2 separate regions of the Homo sapiens genome follow, and region 1 is linked to region 2. Evidence: promoter capture Hi-C in 16 types of primary human blood cells and fetal thymus (Javierre and others, 2016). All regions are on one chromosome and are shown on one strand. Each heading gives the region's core, a stretch centred on a gene start or on the middle of the fragment in contact. The rest is flanking DNA. Distances are from core to core; before and after follow the strand shown. Region 1 has its middle 95 kb from the start of ATF7IP. Region 2 holds the start of WBP11 (WW domain binding protein 11).

Region 1 (5,021 bases), core at 1,705-4,204, 530 kb before region 2:
GGAAGCAAAATCACTGAGCAGAGGCCAAGGGTGCATGCAGCTAAGGCTTCTGTTATTGAAGCCCAGCTACCTGAACTGGAGCCCAGGAGCCTGCAAGCGCAGGCTGCTGTCGGAGTCCCCGTGGCTTCGTCTGCCCCAGACTTCACTACTAATGTTGCCCCTGCCATCAACGCTATTGCCGCCTCCATTCTTTTATCACTGGTGTGTAGTGCTGGAACTGCTGGAAACAGCTGCTTTTTCAACTGCTCAAAACTAGAAAAAGAGAGTCACAATTCCCTCCCTCTTGCCTTTTAATCTCTTTCCATTGGCAGAATCTGACCAAAAGTTTGTAAATGTAGATTACAGAATCTAACACACAGCAGAGCACAGAAGTGTGAGAATGAAGGTTGAAAATGTGAAAGGAAAATAAATCTTGGGGCCTCAAAAATCATTAAGCTAAGGGGAAAAGTCAAGCTGGGAACTGTTGAGGGCAAAGTTGCCTCCCATTGTATTCAAAGTCATCCCTCTGCTCACTGAGATAAATGCATATCTCATTGACTACTTTGGAAAGGCTAATTAGAAACTCAAAAGAATGCAACCATTTGTCTCTTCTCTACCTATGACCTGAAAGCCTCCTCTCTGCTTTTGCTTTTTTTGAGTGGTCCCACCTTTTTTTTTTTTTTGAGTTGTCCTGCCTTTGCTTCAAGTCATCCCACCTTTCCAGACTGAACCAATGTTCATCCTACATATGTTGATTGATGTTTCATGTCTCCCCAAAATGTATAAACCAAGCTGTGGGCTGGGAGCGGTGGCTCACGCCTGTATCCCAGCACTTTGGGAGGCCTAGGCGGACGGATCACAAGGTCAGGGGTTCGAGACCAGTCTGGCCATCATGGTGAAACCCCATCTCTGCTAAAAATACAAAATTAGCCAGGTGTGGTGGCAGGCGTCTGCAATCCCAGTTACTTGGGAGGCTGAGGCAGGAGAATCGCTTGAAACCAGAAGGTGGAGATTGCAGTGAGCCTAGATCAGCCACTGCACTCCAGCCTGGGCGAAAGAGTGAAACTCTGTCTCAAAAAAGAAAAAAAGAAAAAGAAAAACAAGCTGTATTCTTCCCACCTTGGGCACATGTCATCAGGACTTCCTGAGGCTGTGTCACAGGTGCACATCCTTAACTTTGGCAAAATAAACTTGCTAAATTGACTGAGACCTATCTCAGATATTCAAGGTCCGCAAGAACAAACAAATAACCAGTCTGATAAGTCGTAAGAAAGTTACACTCTGTCACATGGACCCTAAAAAGGCCAAGACACTCACTCGCCTTCCCAAGAAGAGTCTCTGTAGAGACTCAATGGTAAACCTGTAGGCAGTCAAGAGTCTCCTGTCCTCAAACACCTAGCAAGCAGTGCTATATGAAGGTACTAGGAAACTTTAACTAGGAAACTTTAAACAATTGAAGATTCTCGACTTCAGATAAGGGATAGGAACAAAAGCAGTACTGATAATATTGAAATACTGTTTTGTGATTGCATTTGATAGTGGGGAAAAGGACATATGAAACCCTCCAGACTTTTTCTCTTGGTGCCCTAAAACTTCTGGCTCATTGAGATTAAAAGGATCAAAATGCAATCTTATCCAGGGATAAAAGGCATTTTTACAATTGGAACTCTAAAATAGTATGTCATCCACTTTAGGACAAAGTGGATGGAGAGAATAAGGCATAATATCAAATACAAGTCCCCCAAATAGAAAGTTACAAGGGTGGACAGAATGTGGAAAAAAACTAAGACAAACCAAATGAGAACAAGCAAATTCTATTTATTCAGAGATTGCTATAGCTAGGGAGTCAACCACTGTCACTTGTATTTTGGCAGACACTCCAAGGCAGGCAGAGGAGTAGGAAAGTTTTATTGTAGGAAAAAGGAAAGGCTTCAACTATGCCCCAGTTAGAGGCTGTTGGCATGAGGAAGCTGTAAGCAGGCAAACTAGAAACAGGAATTCCTATGTGATTGGTTAGGGGTACACATTTGGCTTTCTCTGATTTTTTTTTTTTTTTTTTTTTTTTTGAGACAGAGTCTCACTCTGTCCTCAGGCTGGAGTACAGTGGCGCAATCTTGGCTCACTGCAACCTCTGCTTCCTGGGTTCAGGCGATTCTCCTGCTTCAGCCTCCTGAGTAGCTGGGACTACAGGCGTGCGCCACCATGCCCAGCTAATTTTTGTATTTTTTTTTAGTAGAGACTGGGTTTCACCATATTGGCCAGGCTGGTCTCAAACTCCTGACCTCAGGTGATCCACCTGCCTCAGCCTCCCAAAGTGCTGGGATTACAGGCATGAGCCACTGCACCCATCCGGTTTCCTCTGATTGGTCCTAATTTGGAAGCAGGGACAAAAATTAGAAAAGCGGTCAGTTATTAATCAAGTCCTGGCCATATTGGCTTGTTGTCACAGGAAACAACTGTTATTGTTTGGCCTCTTAGACTGTCACTAAAGATCTGTGACTCCCAACAAATCTGACTTACAGCAGACTGTCTCACTGGTTGGCTATTGAAAATAAGTGATTAGTTTCCTGGATAGGTTGCTGCATGTTGTCAATGAAGGAAGGAAGAACTTTACCCTCTTATGTTATTAGGTACCTGGGGCCTGCAAATTAAACTGACAAATATTACAACAGGAAAAACATATACAATTTCATTTGGTGTTAATGTTTTTATATGGCATGGAGGGCTTCACAGAGAAGATGTGAAAACCTCAAAACATGTGGATAGAGAGGTTTATATACCATTTTAACAAAAGGCAATAAATTGTGAAGACATAGGTAGATAAAGGACAGGGGTTTGGGCTTCTACAGGTGGTAAGTTTTTGGAAAGTACCTAGGAAGTATATGAGGAAAACTAATGGAAGATAAGGGCTATATTAATAAGGTTTGTTTGTGCAGACAAACAATCAGTGTCAATTCTCCATTTCCATTGATAAGAATGTTTTCTTTCTGGTTATGGGAGAGCACCTTTCTCATGGGAAATGTATGTCAGGCCAGGTGTGGTGGCTCACACCTGTAATCCCAGCAGTTTGGGAGGCCAAGGCAGGCAGATCACGAGGTCAGGAGATCGAGGCCATCCTGGCTAACACAGTGAAACTGTGTCTCTACTAAAAATACAAAAAATTAGCCAGGCATGGTGGCCGGTGCCTGTAGTCCCAGCTACTCAGGAGGCTGAGGCAGGAGAATGGCGTGAACCTGGGAGGCGGAGCTTGCAGAGATGGCACCACTGTACTCCACCCTGGGAGACAGAGTGAGACTCCATCTCGAAAAAAAAAAAAAAGAAAAAGAAAAAAAAAGAAAAGTGAAGGTCAAGAGGCCATTTGCTGTTTTTCAATTGCCTTCAGTTCAAAATAATCAATATGCTAAAGCAGCGTATTTGGGGGCAACATGTTCTGATCCCCTTCATGGGTCAGAGTTCTGTTGTTATCTATGGTTCAGCCACTGCCCATTTGTATTTCAACTTCAAATTGCAGTCTTTCGATTCCAAATTGCAGATGTACACTTGAGATCACACTCCTTCAGACATGAGCCTGCCCCAGAATGAGGCAGTGAGAATTTACTTACTTTATGATGGCTAATGATTCTTTTGAGCAGACAATTATTTTAGCCAATAATTTTAGCCAATTATTTTGGGTGAGATTAAATAGTAATAAGAAGAAAGCAATGTCACCAACCATTTTCCCTAAGATATGGTGGAAAAAATGATGGTTGCTTCATAACCCTGCAAGGAGTATCTGAATTTCCCAAATTGACACCTGACACCACGTATGCATCCCTTTTTTTTTTTAAACAGGGTCTCACTTTGTCACCTAGGCCAGAGTGCGGTGGCATGAACACAGCTCACTGCAGCCTTGACCTCCTAGGCTCAAGCGATCTTCCCACCTCAGCCGCTTAGTAGCTGGTACTACAGGAATGCACCACCACACCTGGCAAGTTTTTGTATTTTTTGCAGAGATGAGGTCTCACTATGTCACCTAGACTGGTCTCGAACTCCTGGGCTCAAGAAATCCACCTGCCTCAACCTCCCAAAGTACTGGGATTATAGGTTTGAGCCACCATGCCTGGCCCCCCATATGCACCCCTAATGGATAGAATTTGAAACTTGAAAAAATGGAGAAATTTAGCCGATTATTTTGGGCAGGAGTGCTTTCCCCATAATTAGGCTGTCTTCTGCCAGATTCTTTTAGGAGCCAACCCTAAGCAAAAGGTTTAAATGTAAGTAGTTTGAGTGGTGATCATAGGAAGCACTGACAGGGGAAAGGGGCAGTAAGACAGGGAAGTGAGGGAAGCCTAGACCATTACGTTACCAATGGGGGCAACCGAGGGTCAGTCATGCTGGGAACCTGTGGGAGCTGTCCCACCTGAGGGGAAGAGGAAGCTGGAGTTTGTCCTCTAATTACTATCAGTCATTAGTTTATAGTTGCTTCCAGGAGTGTTAACTCTACAGCGCTGAGGACTTTCTCTACACCTGAACTGAGGAAAAGCCCTCGGGCAGCATCATGTACTAGCAGTAGGATACCGTCTGCACATATAGAAACAGTAAGTATTGCAGGGATATGAGCATGGTACTGACAGGATCTTCCACACTGGCCAAAAAAATGAGGACTCTGATTCCCTATAAAGTACTGAGATCTAAGAGAATCCAAAAATGTATGATAGCAACTGTCCATATCGCTGACATTCTTTCTTCCTTCCCTGTGGGTAGATGTTTAGTAAATCCCGAAAATGTTCCCTAGGTCTGACTTCATTTTCTTTTCTTTTCTTTTTTTCTTTCTTTTTTTTTTTTTTTTTTGAGACAGAGTCTCCCTTTGTTGCCCAGTGCTACTGGCGAATCTCGGCTCAGGGCAACCTCTGCCTCCCAGGTTCTAAGCGATACTCTTGCCTCAGCCTCCAGAGTAGCTGGGATTACAGGCATGCACCATCACTCCTGGCTAATTTTGTATTTTTAGTAGAGACGGGGTTTCACCATGTTGGCCAGGCTGGTCTCAAACTCCTGACCTCAGG
Region 2 (4,831 bases), core at 2,303-4,802:
CTTTCTTAGTAAAGTATTTCTTTGAACTCTGAGATCTTTAGCAGTTACTTAAACACACATACACTTTAAATTTCTTTTTTTTAACCCCTTATGTTCTTGAAGACCTTGGGTGATTGTTCCTGCCCCCTGTTGTAAAACCTCTGCTAGTTGAAGTCCAAAGCAAAGGTTGAAGCTAAATTCTAAAATTATATAAAGAATATTTAAAAATTTTGCAGGAGTTAATGCTAAACATGAAAACACAATCGAACATTATTTAAAATCTGTGTTGCTTCAATGTATTATACTATAATACTATAAAGCACAATACTATAAGGCAAATCCTTTCTAATTCTTTTGAAGTACTTTGCCACAAATTCAACAGCTAAGAGGAGAATGCTAATTGGGAAAATGGATATATAAATCTAATATATCTATAAATATTATAAACCTACATATATATATTTAAGCTAATGTAATATATGTAATAGACAGCTAATCAGGAAAATGGATAAAGCTATCTAGCATCATGTTTATTTCCATCCTCATCAGTAGACTTTAAAACAGTTATGTTTTAATGAGTAAAAAAAAGAATTATTTTCAAAAGTATTTTTTAACTCACTGGGAAAAGTAATCAAACAATGGCATTATAACCTGTAGTGAGCTTCTCTGCAAAGTTACTTCAGTTCCTAAATAAAGTTTGGCTTAGTATATCTTACAGTTTTTATAAAAAGCATAAAGTACCTTTTCTAGAAAATATTAGAAATGTTATTCTGAAACCCACTAATCCCAAATCACAAGATGTACCAAACAATACTTAAAGTTTTATAAGATGCCTCTAAAATCATACCTTCTTTAATTCTCTCTTCCGGGCTTCCTTTCCTTTAAAAGGAGAGAGGGAGATATAATAAAATCTTTGAATCTTGAACATTAGCATTTCCTCCAATTTAATACAGGTAATTCTTTATTGTGGAAAGTTACAGTATGCACTGTAAAAGAGCAGCATCTTTGGATTCTCTCCACTACATGCCAAGAGCATCCCTCTAATTATGACAACCAAAAATGTCAAGACATTTTTGTTTAATGTTTCATAAAAAACAACTATGAATCTGAAGGAAAAACATAACATAAAACGCGAAACAAGGGCTCGCAAAACTAATTTGCTCAAAATTTCCAATATAAAAAGAAAGATTTCAGCCAATTCTACTTTGCAAGTCAATCAAATTTGAAAAATAAAATACGGGTACTAATTTCTTTGCATATTTAAAGTCTTAATGTGCCCATACAAACCCTGAATATATAATTTATTCCTCCTATCACTGCTGGTCTTGTAATTAAGCCACAGAGAAAGAAATTCCCTAATATTTGCAATTTTTAACACTCTCCTACTTCATCATTCCACACTAATGGACACTTACGGGCTTGGTCTGTGGGGTTCATAAATTTTCCACTCTTGGTGGATGATGTAGATCTCCGTCCCATGTTGACAATTTGTATGGTTTACTTGTTCATTAAAAAAAGAAAAACCTGTGAAGGTGAAGACAAAGAAATAGCTTATATCTCCTAAATGTATTTCTTCCTTTTTCTAGTCCCTACCAATCTCTGAAAAAAAATTCCTTTAATTAGAAATTCTGTGAGACTGTTCTTTCCTTAGTTTTGACTTTAATGTCCAAGAAAGATGGCATCACCTTTCTTGACCATGAAAATTTAGATCTCTATCATTCTTCAGAAATGTGATGAGTGTGAAGACCACTTTGAATATCCTCAAGTCATCAGTTTAGCTTTTTTCTTATGGATCACAGCACTGACTTTGTCAACTGATAAAAACAACTAGAAAATGCTTTAACGATATGGCACAAACCATGAACATCAGAATTCATTAGTCCTTCTTCTATAACCTCCCTTTATTAACATGTAATTGTAAAAGAAGAATAAGAAGGGAATGGGGGTAATGGATCTAGGCTCAAAACACATACCTCACCTTTGCCTCTCTCCATGGTTTTTCTTGGCATGTATGCTGTACATTCTCAATACTTCTAAGACACTAAAAACTCATTAATTTAAGCATATTTAATTCAGATTCAGTTCTAGTTCAGATATAATGCTTGACTCTCAAGAGTTCAAAACACAACTAAAAATGCAAATATTTGAAATTAGTGCTATACTGAGAGCTCCCCAAAACTTAAATATTAAGACACATATTTTTCTTACTAAGACCTGACTCCCAATATATATTTCTTAAGGTAATTAAAGGGAATACTTATTTTTGTTTGAGGAAAAAATATTTTGTAAGCTAAAACTTTTATTAACACAGTACCCTATTACATGACTTCTTCCTCTTATTCCAAAATAATGGGGCTTAATTTTTTGAAGCGCAGTCTTTCCAGTAATAAAGGCGGACAAATTTGCTTCCTTTTGCAAGTAGACACTTTTTAAAGGTAAGAAAGGGAAGATTTTGTCAGCCCAGTTTATTACAGTTAATGTCTCTTTCACCAAGTGTCCAACTGCCCCGAAAGCCAGATGTTTCAGAAAGCCAGATGTTTCACAGCTGTTCTGGTGGCAATTACTTCAAGACAGCGGTATCAAAGGCTCTGATTTTTAGCTTCCTCATCTAAAAAATGGGGACATCAATTACTTTATAACAAAGCTCTGATGATACAATGAGATTACAAATAAAATATCCTGTGATGTTTGACTCACTACTTAACTAAAATCTTTATAATGGATCCATATTCCTGGCCTAGCTACCATACACCCTGTCAAGTGGTTTCCTTCTAAGAAAAACTGGGGATGGGGGGGTTAGGGGGGTGGGAGAGCAGCAGGGAGTAGGAGGTAGGGAAGGAGGAAAACAAGCAAAATCAGTACATATACAAGCTCTCCCATCTTTGATTGCCTGCGTTTTTTGTGCTTTCCTTTCTCAAGTTTCCTCAGGCTCATGTTCTGAATCTCCTCCCCCACAAATGAAACACAACGGATACGAATTACAGAGAATTTTACGGAAGACACTGGAGCTTAAGTCTGCAGATTAGTTTTTTGTCTACAAGCGGAGGCGACTGGAAAATCAAGCCAAATAAGCGTTGGATAACTCTAAACAGCCAAAGAAGCTTCAATGGGATAGGGTCCAGGTTCACCAAAGGAGGCAACACCAGCAACTGACGAAACCATAGCGACGGCTGACCGACCATGACTCGAGGTACAAGACGTCAAACCTAAGGCTACTAATCAACGTGCGTAAGAAGCGGCCCCAACCGACCCGGGCGATGCCAACCGCGCAACCACTGGTCGCCGCGCCACCCCAGGCCCAGGAATAGCCCAGTCCGCAACAGGGAGACCTCAACCAGGGAGAGGAGGAGCGGGGCAAAGGGGCTGGGTGTCCCCCAAGCCGCTGCGCGGGACGTGGAAGGGACGAAAGAGGTGAGGAAGAGTAGTAAATCAATTCAATACACTCACACTTCTGCTGTGCTCCCAGGACTACGAGAAGCGGGTAGGGGGCGACTCCCGGCCTCTTTCACTTCGTAAAGGCCTTCAACTGGGTCTCTCGGTCAACCCCTCAGCTACCGCCATCTTGAAACCTCGCGCCCCTCCGCACTCCTCACGTCATTTCCCATTCCTCTGTCCCGCCTTCTCTTAGCGCCGCTTGACCCTGGAACCATAGAGAATACCCAAGAATTCCAGGACCAGAGTCTCTTCCGGTTCCATACAATACTCAATTGGTTGGTTGTCGGCTAAGAGCCCGCCTCATTGCGCTCATCTAGTACAATAGGAATTAGAAGAAGATAGCTGCTAACTGAGTGGCTGACGGTCCTGTCTCTCGAGTTGGAGGCATCTTGACTTAGTTGCTGGGAGCCTGGTACGTTGAGCCGTCCGAGAACGGTACATTCTGCAGATAAAGAAGCGTTCTGCGTTTTCTGTCTTTTGGAATTACCTTAGTTTTTGCATTTTTCTGTTTCTTATGACCCAAGCAGGTGCGATCCTTTAGGGGTGTCTCCGTGTGTAAACGAATACCCAGATAACATTTGCCACTGAGTTTAATCCGCTTTGTAAGCATCAGGTTATCCCATGTGAGCGCCTAGTACGTGTGGAAATTTAATAGACAGGCAGAACAGAACGTTTGTAGACCACCTGAACAAATAAATTAGCACCCGTATTAGAGTCGCAGATTGCTTATATGGGCGGTGATTTATTATTTGTTAGTAGTGTTTTGAAGAAGAAATACGGGGATACATATGCAGTCGGTTTTAAGTTATATGAGTGGCAAGGTTGATATATATTGGCTATATTCCCGACTGGTCTTTTCACCAGCCAAAAGTCCTCTATGATGTCACTCTACGTACGGGATTCTTCACTTAACTCTAGCCTTCGCCCTTTCCCTACCTTCTATCCCCTCTTTCCGTGAGTCAGCCCCCACTTATTTCCCTTAAAGGTAAGTTTAAACATTTAAAAAACTATCTTAGAGGATACGCTTGGTTATTTCTAATCTTAACCTGACTATCCCATGTAGGAAGGCTATTCTTACCACCAGTTATAAATATTTCAAAATATTGATGGAGATACATACTAATTTTTAGCAGAATCTTTAAACTGCCCTTGAAGGTATAAGATCGGTCCTATACCTAAACTTACCTTTGTGTTAGGAAATTCTTGATTTGATTTTAGACTGAATTTGAGTGTCAGAAAGCAATGACGAGATATTGTAGGTTAAAGCTGATAAACCAGGTAGTACATAAAAAAGAAAATAATCTTGAACTGCGAAGGTGAGCTAAGTTGTAATGTTTTGCAACTAGTTTTTTTTCTTTCCTAACACATTAGTGATCATAGTTTTGCAACTCGTTTTGAAAAACAATGCAAGAAGAGA

What was found. The method cuts DNA at HindIII sites, captures the fragments that hold promoters and counts their contacts. A CHiCAGO score of 5 or more calls a contact.
Region 1: a fragment that was not itself captured here is called in contact with the fragment with the promoter of WBP11 in region 2 in 2 of 17 cell types (neutrophils and monocytes); the score reaches 7.0 in neutrophils.

What each region holds. Positions count from the first base shown.
Region 1 is chr12:14,267,820-14,272,840 of GRCh38, forward strand. No RefSeq gene overlaps it. Among named protein-coding and RNA genes, the nearest start is that of ATF7IP, 95 kb to the right of the region's middle. The HindIII fragment of the contact is 5,994 bases long and covers 1-5,021 here.
Region 2 is chr12:14,799,926-14,804,756 of GRCh38, forward strand. It overlaps WBP11 (WW domain binding protein 11), which reads right to left and starts at 3,553. Exons shown (of 12, transcript NM_016312.3): 1 at 3,427-3,553; 2 at 1,395-1,503; 3 at 827-858. The coding sequence starts at 1,458. C12orf60 (chromosome 12 open reading frame 60) reads left to right here and starts at 3,745. Exons shown (of 2, transcript NM_175874.4): 1 at 3,745-3,826. It overlaps SMCO3 (single-pass membrane protein with coiled-coil domains 3), which reads right to left. Exons shown (of 2, transcript NM_001013698.2): 2 at 4,725-4,831. RefSeq lists an enhancer at 3,849-4,088. The HindIII fragment of the contact is 2,157 bases long and covers 3,079-4,831 here.